Regions from separate parts of the Homo sapiens genome. Here region 2 is linked to region 1. Evidence: promoter capture Hi-C in 16 types of primary human blood cells and fetal thymus (Javierre and others, 2016). All regions are on one chromosome and are shown on one strand. Each heading gives the region's core, a stretch centred on a gene start or on the middle of the fragment in contact. The rest is flanking DNA. Distances are from core to core; before and after follow the strand shown.

Evidence for each region. Contacts are between HindIII fragments. The CHiCAGO score rates a contact against its expected background, and 5 or more counts as called.
Region 2: a fragment that was not itself captured here is called in contact with the fragment with the promoter of LYSMD3 in region 1 in 3 of 17 cell types (naive CD8 T cells, total CD4 T cells and naive CD4 T cells); the score reaches 6.9 in naive CD8 T cells.

What each region holds. Positions count from the first base shown.
Region 1 is chr5:90,527,814-90,533,753 of GRCh38, reverse strand. It overlaps LYSMD3 (LysM domain containing 3), which reads left to right and starts at 4,170. Exons shown (of 3, transcript NM_198273.2): 1 at 4,170-4,306. RefSeq lists enhancers at 3,514-3,773, 4,399-4,899 and a silencer at 3,884-4,133. The HindIII fragment of the contact is 4,420 bases long and covers 3,073-5,940 here.
Region 2 is chr5:94,110,965-94,116,556 of GRCh38, reverse strand. It overlaps LOC105379087 (a long non-coding RNA gene), which reads right to left and starts at 4,855. Exons shown (of 7, transcript XR_001742441.2): 1 at 4,818-4,855; 2 at 4,153-4,232; 3 at 2,892-3,002; 4 at 1,756-1,810. It overlaps ARB2A (ARB2 cotranscriptional regulator A), which reads left to right and starts at 4,894. Exons shown (of 11, transcript NM_032042.6): 1 at 4,894-5,046. The HindIII fragment of the contact is 1,727 bases long and covers 2,009-3,735 here.

The DNA.
Region 1 (5,940 bases), core at 2,921-5,420:
TCTTTCATCACAAGAACATAAGCTCCAAGAGGGCAAAGATTTGGGTTTGTTTGTTCATTGCATGTCCCTGATGCTTTATTAAAGCAGGATTTGAAACACAGTTGCTGCTTAATTAACATTTGTTGAATGAACAGATGTAATTTCTGTCTATATTTTGTCAGATAAGCAACTACCTTCATTTTAGGTATGCATGTACACCTCACTATTATTCTTTAAATGAGCACGGAAGTTTTGCTTTTGAAATTCTTGCTTGGTTTTGTCAGATAGTGTTGACTAAGCTGAGGATTGTCACAGAAGTGGTCTCTATCTGGAAAGACCTAGACTAGAAAGAGAAGATGCTGTTGCCTCTCCCATTATCCTTTTATTCTTCCCCACTCCCTATCTTTCCTGTCTCTGTGAATGCACTGCTGAAGACCTAAGAAATCAAACTGGACGTCCACTCTCTGTACTCCATTTTGACTTGCTCTCCACTTCTGGGTGATCACTATCTATCATCACCCAATTCCATAGACTGGGTCATGCCTCAGGTTTTCCTTTGGTTTAGTGAACTTAATTACATACTGTCTTATCATCTTAAATCTCTGGAGAAGTAGGCACGAAAACAAGCAGGATGCAGGTTCTGGGGGAATTCACCTGCACTGATTTGCCTATGTGACAGTAGTGATTATAAGAGACATGGGAAACAAAGCATTTCAAATTATAGTCTACTTAAATATAAAGATGTAACTGTTCCTTTCTACATGTACCAACCACCTAGCTAAAGAGTATAAGGATAGTATTTGTGAGGCTAGTTTTCATCGTGTCTGCATGGATGAAGACTTGAAGATGGTTGTTTTCAAGTCATGTTTAAGATCCATGAATTAATTACTAGCATTTATAAACAGCTTTGGATTCCTGAAGTATATCTGACTCTTCTTTTGTCCACATTATGGCAAAGCCATGATTACAATAATCATTATGTTTAAAAATCACAGGATTAAAGGCAGCTAGAGAGGTCATGTGGTACACCTGCTAGCAGAACATATCCAAATCATCCAGTCTGTTTTTTTCCAACACTTCGAGAGAAGAGACACAATAATTTTCTCTCTACATAGGTTATTTGAAGATCAGAGATGTGGGAGTTTTTTTTTTTTTTAAGTTTCACTCCATAATCCAATTTTAACTTCATCTGAGATTACTTAAAGTATTTCCTTATTGTCCAACAGTTCTTTCTAGTTCTGCTTCTGAAAAGTAGAAGCTGGATAGAAAAGGCTGCTATAAGGATAGAAATAGGAATAATAGGAAGGAGGAGAGAGTAAAAGAGCAGGGTTGAAAGAAATCAGAAAGAGGAAAATCAAGAAGACGTGTAAAAAGAATTCAATGTTTTGTTACCCTTTCATTTTTTGATTTATAAGAGAATTGATCTGGTTCTTTTCTCCAGACATTTGCCGCCTGAATACAAAGTACAAACAGACTCAGGAATGACTAAGAGATGGATGGTTAACTATAGGTTAGCTCCAGAATAAACAAGTCCAGTTACTTAGAAATAAAATGTGTTAATTCTTAATATAATAAAAGCATGTAGTAATAAAAATTCAGTCTATATAGAAAGTTCTAAGAGGAAAAGGCAAAATTTCCTGCCTACTCCCCTGCCATGTCTAGTCCTTTTCAGCCACTGTTAAAATTCCTTGAGTGACTTTCCAGATAGAAAAATTAAGTGCATCTCTCTGCATATATGTGTGTGTGAATGTGTATGTGTATATGTGTGTCGGTGGGGTACGGGGGGTAGGATGAGGGATGCTTATTTGAAATTTTATTCCATAGAAATAATATCATACCTCCTATTTTTTCTTCCTAAAATAGACTAAAATACATTTTAAAGATCTTTCTACACGCTTCAGTCATTCAAGCTCCATAAGTAAGGGGAATTTGTCTTTTTAAGCACTGTTTTTCTTCAACAGAAACTTATTAGGTAAATGAATGAATAAATCAGCAAATGCCAGATTAACTTCACTCTTCTGAAACCAAGTATAACATTATATTGTTTTAATGTACCGGAAGTATCAGTCAACTACTGATAAACATTTAAAATATTTTCAGATTTTGGCTATTACTGTGCAAACATTCCTGAACATATCTGTTAAATCTTGCACATATGTGTCTGTAAGTAAATCTAAGGTAATTACTTAGCAATGTAATAGTTCAGTCAGTTGCATTTAAAATTTTGATAGATATTGCCTAACAGGTTGCATCAATTTACACTCTCACTTCAGTACAACTTCTACTCTAGGGCAACTCACAAAAACTAAACGTTAGTGACTAAAACACATATTCCTAGAAATGACATATTCTTTCATCTATAGCGTTTTAACAGAAACTGTGTCAGGTGAAATCTTGAAACACTAAAAATCCTTTGGCTCTGCTGAGCACTGGGGACATCCTTTTTCTCAAAGACAAAATGCTTGTTCCTACTGGCCGGCTTTTTGGAACTTGGCCAAAATTCACGCTAACTGCTTCTTTTGTATATTCTAATAATAAAATATAATCCTATTCTTCCATTTTTATAAAAAGTTTAATATTTGCATCCTTGTTAAATACAAATAACTATTCAAGAGCATGCAGATATCTTTGAGAAAGTTATTTATATGAAGGATACAGGTATCGGTCCTATAGAAGTGCTTGAAATCTATCACTTTGGCTCTCACATTAATTCCGCTGTCTATTGACATTAAAATAAGAAAAGTAACCTATAGACAGAAAGAAGGTTGTATTCCCATTAACATTCATGAGGGCTAAGCAGCCGAAGTCCTACATATCAAGCAGGGAATATATCCTTTGTCTGCTGATGAGAGAACGTCTCAGTGATAAATGGTTACAGACAGGGGTGTCATGAGGGCAACAACACACAGAACAATTCAGACAAACTTTTTAAAAAAGTCTTCTCCTGCAGTTTTTTTTTGTGGCGCTGGGAAGCACAGTGCCTATCCCTGCTAATAAAAGAAAACTATTGCAATGCAAAACTCCTAACCTTTGCAGAGGCACTTACCAGAAAACCAAAAACATACTCTTTGAAAAACAATTTAAAACCAAGCTTCAAAGGCTTTCTAATGTATAAATATTCAGACATTCTGAAAAGCACTGCTCTGCACCCTGCACCCCAGCTATTTGTGCCTAAAATGGATATTGTCGTAACAGTTAGCATGGTTGTCAAAGTGCAACGTCTCTAATATCAACACTGAGAGACATCAGACTCATTAAAATGCTTTACATTCATTAATTAGGTTGGTGCAAAAGTAGTTGCGGCTTTTGCCAAAGTCATACATAAATTCAAACACATTATGATACTCATTTAACACATTTGTGATAAAAATCATGTATGAAGTCATGAGTTTATTTAATAAGCTAATATTCCATAGAGTCCAATGGTGACTACCAATGACTCAGTTAATTTTCAAACCAAAATAAGTTAGATTACAATTTGTTGACTCCCTTGACTCCTCGAGCCAGGGAAAACATTTCCTGGGGCCTGACTCTAGGTGGCTCACTTCCCTCACCTAAAAACAGGAAGGGTGAGACAACCCCCTCCAACCCTCGTCCTCGGTCCCCCAAGGATTTCTCTCCAGAATTCTGCCTCTTCTGCAGCAGTCTGGAGTCTTCAGCATGAAAAGGGTAACAAACATGGCGCAATTTTCTGAAACCGTGATGTCAACAGTGTTTTTGAGGTGTCCTTTCCCACCCTAAAGAAAATTCGAGATGCACAGCAAGAAAAAAATGCAAGACAGCTCCCCGACACATCCTGAGCCACGCCTCGTCCTCAGGGTGCACCCGACAGTCTCTGCCAGCGCAGTGTGGACGCTGGACAAAGACGCAGCCAGTAGGTCGCTGGTGGTCGCGGGTTGGATCCGCTGACTTGGCCACCAAATCTTTTCCTCGGGGAGTGAAGCGGCACGGAAGGAGCGGAGTCAAGGGCGGGGCTGGGGATTGGACCCGCCCCCGGGCCCGGGGATTGGACCCGCCCCCGGGCCCCGGAGGAGTCCCTGCGCCTGCGTGCCGGGCGTGGACCTGTGGTTGGACTCCCCCGTTTTGGGCTGCCCTCCGCGTCCTCCCCCGCCCCTTCCCACCTCCGCCCACTTGACGCGATGACGCATCTCAGGTTTGCGGACGTGGCGGCGGCGTACGGCCCGGAAGGCGGAGACGTTGGCGGCAGAGGCGGAGGCGGACGGGGTCAGCCCAAAGCAGAGGCTCGGCCATGAACTTACCCGGGACAGCGGCGGCGGCGGACCTTTTGGCCATCTTCTCGCAGAGTGCTCCCTGCTAACGGGGACAGGTAAAGATGGTGGCAGGAGGTGAGGGTAGCCCGGTCCAGGAGGGCGGGGTTGAGCCCCAGCTGCGTCCTCACGGGAGGCGCTGAGCCTCGGCCACAGGTGTGGTGGGGGCTGCAGGGCCGGGCTCGGCCCGTGTGGCGGACACCCCCGAGACAGGGAAGAACTTCCAGACCAGCCCTGCCAGGCCCTCTTGTCACACTGTCGGGGAAACTGAGGCTCAGAGGAAGGACGCCTACCTGCTGGATTACCTGGGCAGCTAATTTCCCACCCAAACACAGCATTTCTCCCACGACTTTATGTTGGCGTGAAATATTCGCTGACGGCATCTTGTCACATCGTTCAAGTGTCATGCTGTGACAGAAGACTCTGAGACGTAATCTTCGCTGACGATAGCAGGGAAAGAAAAACTTGACGTGTGGAATACAGAGGGAGGAGGTAGTTAAGTTTTAAAAAACAAAATTGTCCCTGGCAGCGGATAGGGTGCCTTTGATTCTGTCCCTTTGCAGCTTTAACTTGTGCCCTGTGACCCTCTTATTGCACCTTGCTTAGTTAAAGAAGGTCAAGGCGAAACACCCAGCAGCCATTCTACAGTACGAAGGTGTTTGGGAAACCGTTTTCAGTTACAGACTGAGCTGAAGAATGCTTTAACACTGTTTTGTGGCCCCTCGTAATCTAGGTAGCACGCAGGCTTGTTCCAAGTTTCTGAAAGGGAGTTCGTGCCTTTTTCCTGCTCTAAGAGAATTAAGAGAGGTGAATAGAATTGAGCCAGATGACTTAAATATTATGTATTTTCTAATCTCTGAGTAGTAGACTGGAGTGATCGCCTGGGTCAGTCTGTTCACTTCGGTTGAAGACACAGCCAGTTCTTGATCATTCAGAATACCCAGATTTGTAACACGATAGTCAGCTGCCTGCATTTCATTATAAAGGGGAGTGGAGAGATAGTGAGACAGGTGAAGTTCTGACCTTTAAATTATATTTAGAAATATATCGTGGAGAGAGGTTGATAGAAACAAGTATCTAAAATGGCTTTGGGGCATTGCTTAGTGATTTTCAGTTAGCTGCACTACTAAGCCAATTTTGAAGTTCTAAGTACAAATTATTAGGGTGAAACTGTCTAACAAGACACATAAGTAGGTCGGTATAGCCAAGTGTAAATTGCTGTATATTAAGTCTTAACTTTTTTGATCATGGATGCCTTTTGAGAATATGAAGCAATGAAAATTCTCCCCAGAAAAATATACATATGTATAAAATTTGCCTGGAATCTACAGGATTCAAAGACATTCCCTAGGTTAAAGACACAAGATTAAAAAAAGACCTGGTTAAATGAGTGGAAATAAAACTGTTATCCTTGGAGGAAAAGATGTGGTCATGACTTCAAAACTGCTTTTGAGATATAAAATGTGATAGTTTTCTTTAGTTTCATAGCTGTCAAGTTAGGAATCCTAGTTCTTGGTAATAATGTAGCACTTCAGAGAACAGTTGAAATAATCTACTTAACATATAGCTATTAGTTATCTGTGTTATCTGAATAGGAACTCTTGAGCTTTTAAAGCATTATAATATTGCCATTAGAGCAAGGTCAGAAAGTGCTTTTCAAGGGTTGGATTCAACTATATTAAATAGTTTTAAA
Region 2 (5,592 bases), core at 1,623-4,122, 3.6 Mb before region 1:
GGCCCCGCCCACGAAACCATTTTTTCCTCCTAAACCTCTGGGCCTGTGGTGGGAGGGGCTGCCACAAAGGTCTGTGACATGCCCTGGAGACATTTTCCCCATTGTCTTGGTGATTAACATTCATCTCCTCATTAGTTATGCAAATTTCTGCAGCCAGCTTGAATTTCTCCTCAAAAAATGGGATTTTCTTTTCTACATTGTCAGGCTACAGAATTTCCAAACTTTTATGCTCTGTTTCCCTTTTAAACTGAATGCTTTTAACAGCATCCAAGTCACCTCTTGAATGCTTTGCTGCTTAGAAATTTCTTCTGCCAGATACCCTAAATCATGTCTCTCAAATTCAAAGTTCGACAAATCTCTAGGGCAGGGGCAAAACGCTACCAGTTTCTTTGCTAAAACATAACAAGAGTCACCTTTGCTCCAGTTCCCAACAAGTTCCTCATCTCCATCTGAGATCACCTCAGCCTGGGTTTCATTGTTTATATCATTATCAGCATTTTGGTCAAAGCCATTCAACAAGTCTCTAGGGAGTTCCAAACTTTCCCACATTTTCCTGTCTTCTTCAGAGCCCTCCAAACAGATCCAACATACTCAAGACTGGGCAATTTACAAAAGAAAGAGGTTTAATGGGCTTACAATTCCACATGGCTGGGGAGGCCTCACAATCATGGCAGAAGTTGAAAGGTACATCTCACATGGCAGCAGACAAGAGAAGAGAACTTGTGCAGGGAAACTTCCATTTTAAAACTATCTGATCTTGTGAGACTTATTCACTATTACAAGAACAGCAGGGAAAGACCTGCCCCCATGATTCAATTACCTCCCATGGGTCCTTCCCACAACACATGGGAATTCAACATGAGATTTGGGGGGGGGACACATCAAACAATATCAGCAAAGTAATCTCAAGGTAAATGCTGCAGCTGCAAGTGCCACTCGTGAGTATTCTTAGGGCAAACAGGAAAAGGGTTACTGGCAATTCTATATTGCATATTGTCATGGATGGATTTTGGGAGGGTAACATGTCTTGACTCCACTGGGAAAGTACAGCAAATAATGGAAGAGTATAGCAAAAGCGCTGTGTTTGGTACCCTTTTGGACTCTGCCTTACGTGTTTCTTCCCTTGGCTGATGTTAGTCTGTATTCTTTCCTTGTAATAAATGGTAACTGTAAAGATAACAGCTTTCAGTGAGTTCTGTGAGACCTTCTAGCAAAATTTCAAACCTGAGGGTGTTTCTGGGAACCCTCCAAACTTGCAGTTGGTGTCAGAAATCAGGGACACCTTAGAGACTGTGCCCTCAAACCTCACAGGTTGTCTAACTCTAGGTAAATATATCAACCTACAAATTGTCTCCATCACAAACTAGAGGCTATTTTATGTTTTTTTGTTCGAAATTCTCTTAAAGTATGTTTTGAACACTGATATGTTATCTTTTCTCATTTTAAAAAAATTCCAGGCATAATGAAAAGGGTGTTCTTGGGTCTAACTCAGTTTTGTGTCCCCAGCATCTAGATGGAAAGTACAAGTGATAGGGGGTTGATTTCAAGTAATAATCATTTTGTTGGAGGGGTCATTAGAAATTATTTGGTTATATGATCCTACTTTTTGGGCTTTAAATATAAACTGAATCTAGAAGGCAGAACTTGTTGTAATTACTATCCACACTTCACACATACTGTCTTAGTCCATTTTCTGCTGCTGTAAGAATACCACACACTGGGTAATTTATAAACAAAGAGATTCATTTGGCTTACAGTTCTGGAGGCTGGGGAAGTCCAAGATCCAGAGGCTGCATCTTGTGAAGGTCATCTTGTGGCAGAAAGCATCACAGGGGGAGAGAGGGTGAGACAGAGTAGTGAGAGTGCACAAGACAGAGAGAAAATGGGGACCAAATTTATCCTTTTATCAGGAGCTCACTCCCATGATAACTAACCCACTCCCACAATAATGGCATTCATCCTTTTATGAGGGCACAGTCCCTATCACCTAAATCACCTCTTTAAAGCTTCACTTCTTAATATTATTACAATGGCAATTATGTTTCCAATGCATGAATTTTTAGAGAACACATTCAAACCACAGCACATTCCTGCTTGGGCTTGAGCAAGGGCAGGAATGTTACTTGATTCTCCAAATTTAAGTCAGAATCCAGACCTCATTCTAATACAGTTGGTTAGTTTGGACAGAGCTTTGCCCTTAGCATCTAATTAAGAATATTTTCCTTAATGGATTTTCTTGAGCTGCCAAAATGTTGGCACTGAGTCCTAGTCATGATAAGTAGGTTTAAATTTTATTTTTAACTTAAATGAACAACATGTAGCCTTGTTAGTATTTTTGGAGGTGTCTGTCTGCTGTATGTCACTGAAATCATTTAATGTGAAGGGTGGGAGTAGATTGATAAAAAGATAGATGCCCAAGGAAGTGGTCTGGAATAGGAGGAGGATACGCAAAATATGGTATAGGGACATTTCTTTGATCATCCTAGTGATCAAAGATGGACCAGCTGTTAGCCAGGAGGGAACAAATCTCCTTTCCTTTTTCCTTATCTTAGTAGGATTTTGAAGTGCAAGAGAAGAGAGGTGGGGAGAGAAACTGAAGTTTCTGGCTTCCCTAGAGATGTATAAATTAAAATTATAAACTAACTTGTACAGTTTAGATGACTATGGTTAAAATGAGGGGACATTTTTGTACTATATTGTGTAGTCATCATTGTAATGGTTTCTGCTAAGCTACACATGGGCTGTTGTAATTCTAACAAAACATCTAAGCCCACATACAATTTTTGTTGCTTTCCCTCCTTTCTCCTCACAGATTTGCAGAAGATATTTTTGTGGTCAGCTGAGGCAGGAGTTTACCATTTAGGGTAGAGTAAGGAGAGAAAAGGACTCACTCTGTTTCAGCACATAACCTCTTCATTCTTGATTTTGACATCTTAGGCAGGATTGGACTTGAAAGGATATTTACTCTTTGGCTGTTGTCATACAGCTATTAGTTTCTTTTGCTGAAAAACAAATCACTCCAAAATTTACTGGCTTAAAGTAACAAGAATCATTTTCATTATCTCTAATTGTTTCTGTGGGTCAGGAATTCAGAACTGGGCACAGTGGGGATGGCTCGTCTCTGCTTTATGAAATTTTGGACCCCAGCTGACTCAATGACAGGAACAATCTGAAGGCTCATTCATTCCCATGTAAGTCCAGCTGGAATTGCAGGCTGAAGCACCCATATGTTTGTTCAATAGTTTACTACTGAACAAAGTACATTCCCCTAACCCTTGAGTGGGCCTCTATCCTGGAAATATTGAAAGGTCATGTCACTCATCTTTTGACCAATCTCCATATTTTATGTAAACATTGGTATATTCTCTTAATGGAATGTTACTTTTTTATTCAATTTTCACTAGTTTTCTCACTTACGTTCTATTTCTATTTCAGGATCCAACATTAAAGTTGGTCTCTTTAGGCTCCTCTTGGCTCAGACAGTTTCTCAGACTTTCCTTGTTTTTCATGACTTTAACTGTTTGGAGTAGTACTGGTCAGGTATTTTGTCTGATGTTTTTCTCATGGTTAAACTGGGATTATACATTTTTGGGAGCCTTATCTTTTTAATATAATCTGTCACTGTTGCAAAAGTCCACCAAAATAAAAATGTTTCCCTCCTCTGTTCAACAATCCTTCAGCTTCCCCAATTGTCTGCAGCAGAAAATCAAATTACTCAGCATGACATAGAAAGCTTTTCAGAATCTGGCTGTTGCCTTCCTCTTCAGTATAAAGTGTCACTCTACAAACCATTTGAGTTCTTTCCGGAAATGAAGCCCTAACAGTCTTGCAATGCCCGAGATTCATTCAGGTACTCAGTTCTGGCTAACTCCAGTGGATTCTCTCACCTTTTACTGCTCCTTATCTCCCGCCACTTACTTACACCACTTTCTTCTTGTCCTATACACTTTTCTAGATTTCCCCAATCTATTATTTACCACTGTGATCATTCAGTCATTCAATAAGTATTTATTGTCTACTTTGTGGACAGGCACTGTTGTATGGTTGAGGATACATTAAAAAGACAAGATTATGTCACTACCATCAGTGAGTTTACATTTTAGGGGGCAGGGTACATTTGCAAAGTACAAACAGTGTGGAAGTGAAGTATACCTTAGAGAGTCTGAGATCTCCTCTCTGAAGAACATAACTGTTGGTTTACTTGTCAGCCACCAGACTTTCCTTCTCTTTAGCTGCCTCAGAGGAGAGGGTATCTAACTCAGCTTTGTTACCCCAGCGTCTAGTTTAGCCTAATTCATTAAATTAACAGTTTTGGACTAAATAAATGCTCTGAGAGTACTATCTAAAAATTAAAAATCAGTTGCTTCCATCCCTTTCCCCAGATTTATCCTTGAAATACCTTTCAAACCTGTTTCTGGAAAAAACATTAATATCCGTAAGATTCCCATTTGAGTCAAGTATGATAACGAGAAAACTTTTGTCATTAGGATGCTAATATTAACTTCCTATTTTACATGTCCTAATTCAAAGGTAAATTTAATCTTCCGAATCTAGACCTCCCGGTTTTTCTGGAGTTGAATGGACAGGGTAAAGTCTGACACACTCTGAGTAGCGGAGTGGGGAACTGGCTGTAAGGACATCCTTAGAATAGTTAAAATTCCGCTGGGAAAACGAGGCTTTAGAGTGGCCTCGTCCTCTACGGCTACCCAGGCAGCCTTCACAAGGAAGGGCGACCAGAGTCCGCCAGTGCATAAGAGAACTACACTTAATTCACGCGGGCCTCTTTCTCCAGTCCACCTAATACCACAGGAACCTACCCAGGGCCCGCGCCCCGCCCGTTTCCGGGTTGTCGCCGCCGCTGCCGTCAAGTGCGTAATGACGTATCAATCTCCTGAAGACCCCGGAAGTGCAACTCGAACTTGGTCGGGGCGCGGATCCCGAGAGGGAAAGTCATAACAACCGCACGAGGGAGTTCGACTGGCGAACTGGAAGGCCACGCCTCCTCCCGCCTGCCCCCTCAGCCCTGTGGCTGGGGGCAGAGCTCAGGTAGGACTGCCGTTTGCGGGGATGTGAGCTCCGGGGGCAGGCCCGGGTCGAAATCAGGAGGGGGCTGGCCTGGGTCGGTCTCAGGCGGTGGTCGCTGGCCCTGGGGACCGAGGCTGTCTGGAACCACGCTGCATTCCCTGCGGACACCTCTGACTTGTGTCTGGGCCTCCGCTGATGGGCAGGTCCCATGTTCCATTTCCACTCTCTAGGCGGGAGCGACGTGTGTGTTCCCTGGATGACTTTCCTTATGTCGGGGCGTACGGGATTCTGGGAGTCCCTGGAGACAGAGTAATGGGCCCTCCTCCGCTTTCTTGCGAGTGGAGGTATTGTGGTTGTTGTATTAATTTTTTTTTCTACAAAAAGTATTATTAACTGCCAGCGCTTTACCAGAAGTCATTCACTGCAGAGGGATTAAAGTGCAGTTATAAAATGCTCTCAAAACTTGTAACATGCATGGGCGCGGGTGGGACGTTTCTCTGGGATGCAGTATGAATTAAGTGTTGAATACTTTTGACTTTGAAATAAAGTAAGTATGTTTTGGAAGCA